Linked DNA regions of Homo sapiens: region 1 is linked to region 2. Evidence: promoter capture Hi-C in 16 types of primary human blood cells and fetal thymus (Javierre and others, 2016). All regions are on one chromosome and are shown on one strand. The core of a region is centred on a gene start or on the middle of the fragment in contact, and the rest is flanking DNA. Distances in the headings are between cores, read along the strand shown. Region 1 overlaps LINC02622 (long intergenic non-protein coding RNA 2622). Region 2 holds the start of UNC5B (unc-5 netrin receptor B).

The links. Contacts are between HindIII fragments. The CHiCAGO score rates a contact against its expected background, and 5 or more counts as called.
Region 1: a fragment that was not itself captured here is called in contact with the fragment with the promoter of UNC5B in region 2 in 5 of 17 cell types (endothelial precursors, M1 macrophages, M0 macrophages and 2 more); the score reaches 13.1 in endothelial precursors.

Annotation. Positions count from the first base shown.
Region 1 is chr10:70,940,804-70,943,715 of GRCh38, forward strand. All of the region lies in intron 1 of LINC02622 (long intergenic non-protein coding RNA 2622), which reads left to right. Among named protein-coding and RNA genes, the nearest start is that of LINC02622, 3.2 kb to the left of the region's middle. The HindIII fragment of the contact is 2,530 bases long and covers 203-2,732 here.
Region 2 is chr10:71,211,241-71,214,412 of GRCh38, forward strand. UNC5B (unc-5 netrin receptor B) reads left to right here and starts at 1,330. Exons shown (of 17, transcript NM_170744.5): 1 at 1,330-1,824. The coding sequence starts at 1,746. RefSeq lists an enhancer at 1,092-1,386 and a silencer at 1,231-1,490. The HindIII fragment of the contact is 10,825 bases long and covers 1-3,172 here.

The DNA.
Region 1 (2,912 bases), core at 218-2,717, 270 kb before region 2:
GACATAGGATGGACAGTTATTTGCCCCCATGGTGCTGGCCCTCTGGAAATTTAGAGTCCCTAGAAGCCCCGCCATGTCCTGCTTCTTACCTGTGATGTAGGGGTGGAGATGGAGGGGCTTGAAAGGGCCCCTGGTGGCTTTCCCTTCCCTGGCCACTAATCCAGGCTGCCTGCTCCCTCCTCCCAGCCCTGCCAGCTGGCCAAGCTTATCCTGTGGCCCTGTCCAGGTGACAAGGCCCTGGAAGAGGGCCAGCCAGCTGGACTTCTCAGGAGCTGTCACCAGAGCCCCAGAATATGGGGAGTGGAAGGAAGCACAGAGGCAGCAGGGCCCTTCTCTGGGGAAGACAACCAGGGACACTGGGAGCCTGAAACCAGAGCCATTTCACACCTTGCCTATTAATTGCCAGATTGATTTTGGATCCCAGTCTCCAGGAGGACCCAAAAATCAATCCCCTCCACTCCATGCTTCTCTGGGCTCAGGAGTCGTTCTTAAAGCTGCAGCTGTCCTGGCTGCTGTGGCTGAACCTTCCTGTCCAAGAGCAGGCTGTGGGTTTCCAAGCATGCTCAGGGCTAGGCGGCGGCTGTTGGCTTTATTCCAGATCCACTGATCTCTGTGTAGGAAGACTCTTACCCTGAAGGGGAGCCATGGGGTATGATTGGAGAGGTGTTAAGAAGGCTCTCATTCTCAAAGCTCCCTCCTACCAAGATGCCCGATACCCGTAATTCCACCATTAGGAAGTCATTTCTTTGGATACATTTAGGTCAACAGTCCCAGCTTCCAAAATATGGAGGCCCAGGAGAAGGAACACAGATTAAGGCTGTACCATTGCAGTTCCTTGTGAATGGAGGCACTGGAGGCCTCAGGGCATCAGGAGAGCTCTGTGTGAGGGGTGGGGAGGAGGAGGCAGATGTCAGGGCGTGGGGGAGGGAAAGTAGAAGTTGAAGACCACCCAAGAGGAGGCTGTGGAGGGGTGGTGAGCAAAGGAACAGTAGGTACCCCCAAGGCATTTCCCACCTGGGGGGCTGCTTTGGGGCTGTGGTGCTGGGAGACTGGCTCTGTGGCAGGTGAGATAAGATGAAGGAACTCCCGTTGGCTGGGTACCCTCTGTGCCTCCAGCCTTTAGCCAAGCACAGTGGCAGTCTGATGTCACCACCACCCTGTGGGAAGGGCTCCCACAGCCTTGTTTCTTAGATGAGACACTGAGGTGGTGCATGAGGCTGGGTGACCTGCCCAAAAGGTCACACAGCTGCTCCTGCAGCATGGGGGCTGGAGCTTGGGTCCGCCACCTCTTCATGCCATGATTTCACTGCCTCCCGCCTCCTCCGCAAAAGGGGCCAGGAGTTGAGGAGGCTTCTAAGAAGTTGGGAGAGCCGGAGCATAATGGAAGGGGTACCTGAGGTCAAGGACGCCATGATTTCAAGAAGCTGAGGCAGGAAGTTCTATGACCCGCTGATGTTAGAAGCTGGGGACAGCCCCTGGGCTTCTGTCCTCAGCCTCCCTGACATCCTGCCCTGTGCAGAGCCCGCACATGTGTGAAGGCCTGGTGGGCAGGTCTCCTGCAGCCTCAGCCCAGTGGCTGCTGCCTGCTACTCCATCATGGCTGTGGAGATGTGGGCTTTAGGCAGGGTCACTGCAAGTCACCCTGTGTGCTTAGGGACATGGGGACATCATTGCTCATCCCCTTCCCACATGGACCCAATTACTGATGCAGCACTGCGTGTTCCCACGGCCACCAACACGGGCCTCATTCCTGGTAGCATCACAGATGGACAAAGAGGTCCTGGGCCTCCCTCCACCCCCCCAAGCCCATTATGCTAATTTCAGGTGTGTCTCCACTTTGCCAGCCTGGAGGGTGGAGCGTGTGTGTGTGTGTGTGTGTGTGTGTGTGTGTGTGTGTGTGTGTGTGTTGGGGAGGGAATGAGGCAGCAACTGCAAGAAGTTTGGTGCAGTTACAGGGAACAAGTCTCATCTTTGCCCAGCCTGTGAGCCCCTTGAGAGCAGGGGCCATGTCTGTTTTCCAATAACTGACCCCGAGGGCCTGGCATGGATGTGGGTACTCAGTGCATGTTTGTTTAGTGACTGAATGGCTGAGTGAGTGAATTAGGAATCTCTTGGTGGCCATCTGAGTCCTCGCCCAGCCACAGCTATGCTGTGTGGCTTTTGGTGAGTTGCTAGATGTCTCTGTGTGCAGATACCTGAAAATAGTGCCAACTGGGAAGAATGGCTAATGACAGGCATGTGCTGAGGGGATAGTGTGGGCAGGAGGGCTCTGCAGTTTGTGGAAGGTGCCCGCAGTGTAAACTGCTGGGGACACTGGGGTCTCTCTCTTTTTCCCAAGGCAAGGCTGACACGGTTTGGAGCACAGTGTAGTTTTGAGTGGGAGGAGGGGGCTGTCCTAGGCTTGGTTGGGGTGGGGGCATGTGGACTGGCATTGGAACTGAAGGGTGACAGGGAGGGCTGGGTCGGGGCTTGGCCAGGGGTTGAGGTCAGGGGATGGCTCAGGCAATGGCTGGGGGCTCACGCGGATCCTGAATGAAGAAGTTGGTCAGAGCTGGGTACAGCTGGGGTTGGCTTCAGGACCTCAACTCAGGGCTGGACCAGAGGTCTCACCAGGTCAGGGCCAGTGTCAGCCTGGGGCCAGTGCAGATTCTGTCCAATAGGAGCACTGGGAATGGCTCACTGTCCTGGCCTCATTTGCTCTGAGCACATAAGCTGAGTGGGTGGATAACCAAAGCTTTCTGAGGGTGATGGCCTTGAAGAAGTCCTCCTGTCCCCAGGTTGTCCTCGGGGAAGCTCAGGGCTGCCCAGGGACCCAGGGGCCATTTCACCCTGTCTGTGTGTTGTCAGGGGAAGGACAGAATTGCCCAGCTAGCACTGACTAGCAGCTGGAGGGTGGTGTCATCAGCATTTCT
Region 2 (3,172 bases), core at 80-2,579:
AAGACCCCGGCTTGTGAGGGGAGTGTGTGTGGAGAGGGTACTAGTCCTGCCTTCACCTCACCTCTGGGGAAACAGCTAGGACAGTCCCCTTCGCACAGCCCAATCCAGCCCCAGGGAAGGTGTTCAAGTGAGGCTCCCCCGTTTAGAGGGTTTCTTTCCAATCCCATCTCCCCCATCCCCTTTGCTCAGTCACTCAGTCACTCCAAGCAGTGTGATCTCCGGCAGGTGGCTTTACACCTCTGTGCCTCAGGTCCTTCATCTGTAAAATGGGATGTAAATGGTGCTTACTTCAGAGGGTTGTGAGAATTAACTGACATGATGCATACAGAGTGCTTAGCCCTGTGCCTGGCACAGGGAAGGTCTTTGCCTATGTTAGCTGATCCGCTCGTTCTGATCTCTCTGGGTTTCAATCCCAAGACACTGCCCATCCTTCAAACCTCACCTGTCCCCACGTGCTCCTTGGACCACCTTTGGGTGGTCAGGACTTTCCCCCTGGAATCAGACTGGCTGGGAGGGGAGAATCTTGGAAAGAGATTATTGACACTTGCACTGCAATTTCCACACAAGTTTTAAAATTTAATTCTATACCCCCTTATGAAATAGTTATCCTTTTCCTCCATTTTACAGATGATGATGAAGGGAGCAATAGAATTGTTAAGTAACTTGTTCAAGGTCACACAGTAAATAAGGGGCAGAGTCCAAGTTTACACTGAGCCAAAAATGGCTGTCCCACTGTCAGGTAGGAGGCTAGTTTACAACAACGCAGGATCAGAGTGCTGGAGGGGTTTCCAGGGGTCTGGTTAACAGTTCTGCCGGAGATCATACAGACAAGCAGAGCCAGCCAGGATGATCCTAATCTATACCCAGCTTCATATCGCTGTAAGCCCCCGCGTAACCAGGACTTGGGTGTTCTCATTTTGGGAGCCTTTTTTTTGGAAAGACCCCCACATGTGGAAGGCAGAGCGCATACTACAGACAGGGGAGCCAAAAGTGAGAGTCCTATGTTTAATCAGAGGAGAAAGCTGACATGGCCAAGCCAAATGAAGGCGCAAAGCCAGATTTCCTTAATTTGGGGGAGCGAAAATTGGGCCGCCTCCACGTCCAGCCATTCTCCAGCGGCCGGGTTTTTCAAAACGCTGCGCCCAGCGTCTCGCGAGGACCCTCCCCCCGGGTCCCCCAGCTCTGCCGCGGCCGCGCCCAGATGGCCGTCGGATCCCCCCTCAAGGTCCCCCTGTCGGCTCCGCCCTCGGTCGCCCAGGCCCCGCCCCGGCCGCGCGCGGTCCCCTCGGTTGGCGAACTCACTCCGGCGAGCGAGCGGCGGCGCTCGGCATTGTGGCAGGCGGCTGGGGCCGGCTAGGGCGCCGGAGCCGCACGCAGCCGCGGGGCTCCGAGAGGCGCGCACTGGGGCTGGGACTGCGCGGCGCCGCCGCTGCGAGCGCCACTGAGCGGTCGCGCAACTTCGGAGGCACAGCGCCGGAGCCAGGCGAGCGCTCAGAGACCCGGAGCCAGAGGGGCGCGCCGGAGCCTCGTTCGAGAGCCGGCGCCAGGCACCCACCGCGCTCCGAGTGCCAGGCGGCCCTCCGCGCAGCGTGGCTTCCGCTGCCCCCACGGAAGGCACGGGCTGGCGCTGCCGGGCGCCGGGGAGGACGGCGAGGAGGAGGCGGCGGCGGCGGAGACGGCGGCGGCGAGACTGGGGCCAGGGAGACAGCCCTGGGGGAGAGGCGCCCGAACCAGGCCGCGGGAGCATGGGGGCCCGGAGCGGAGCTCGGGGCGCGCTGCTGCTGGCACTGCTGCTCTGCTGGGACCCGAGGCTGAGCCAAGCAGGTAGGAAGCGATCGGGTCTGGGGGCGCGGGGCTAGGGGACCCTTGCGCCTCACTCTGTCCTGAAGTTGAGGTGGTCTTTCGTCGCATCGATGCGCGCAGGAAAAGCGGCAAGGGCGCCCAAGTTAGAATGTAGATTTTACTGCCTCCCAAAGTGGGCAATGGCGCATCCACATCGCGGGAGCGGGGAGCAGGGAAGGGGCTTCACAGTAAGCTGAAAGGTCCCTGCTCGCTCCTGAAAGGGATCCCTTCTTCTCCCTGGAAGGGGTGTAGGAGTCAGGGTCTGAGTCTCCGGGAGGATCCGCCTCCTGGGGACGCCCGGCTCTCCGCGCGCCTGGCATCCGCCCCGAAAAAGAACATTGGCTACATAAGCAAGGTGTGCGCTCGCTGCCGTACGCCGGTAACTTACTAGTCTGGTCCCGGCTCGCCTAGGCTCTTACGCGCTATAGGGACAGCAATCTGCAGACTAGAGGGAGAGAGCGAAAAGACCTGCTGAACACAGGAAGCGCTTCGGTAGCCTCGGCAGGCCGGCTTGCAGGGCTCCTGAAGCGGGGAGGGCTAAGTCTTGCACACATAGCTTTCCCCGAGATCGCTGGGCCCGCAGGTCTGGAAGAATTATTATTATTATTATTATTATTATTATTATTAATTTTCTGAGTGTTGGAGAGTGTGTGTGTGTGTGTGTGTGTGTGTGTGTGTGTTGGATGCGGGTAGGGGTTCTTAGCGATCCTGCGGAGTTTCCTTTTAAATTGGTCACTGACATTCTCGCTGTCCGGGGAACAGACTAGGTGCGCTCTCCTTGGTACAGCGCCCGCTCTGGACCCACCAAGATGACTTCAGCGAACTGGTGGGCTCCGAAATAAAGTCCCTAACCCTCCTCTCTCGCCGTGGATGAATACGTTTCTCGCTCGTCCTGTAGCTGGACCCGGCGTCGCTGGCTGGGCTGCGTCTTCTCGGGGAGGCTGTGGACTGAATGGAGCCAGCCTCTCTCTGGTACCCGAACCCAAGCAAGTGGGCTGGCCACGGCTGCCGGGCGGCTCGGCTCCGGAGCCAGGTGGGGACGGGGCCTCCTGCACGGAGTCCTCTCTGAGTTGAGGCTGAGAATGGAGCAGGAAAACTGGAGCAGAAAGTGGACGAGATGACGCAGCCCTCCCCACCTCCTACCTCCTGCTGCGAAGTTGACATCCGCCCTTCCCCCCTCCATAGCCAAAGATTCCTCATTCTGGAATTAGTGATTCCCACGGCCAGGAGTGAGGGCTTGGCTTTAGCACATTCCCCACTTTTTTTTTTTTTTCTGGTGCAAGTCCTGTGCAGTAGAGTTACAACACTCAACCATTTGATCCAAGTTAAT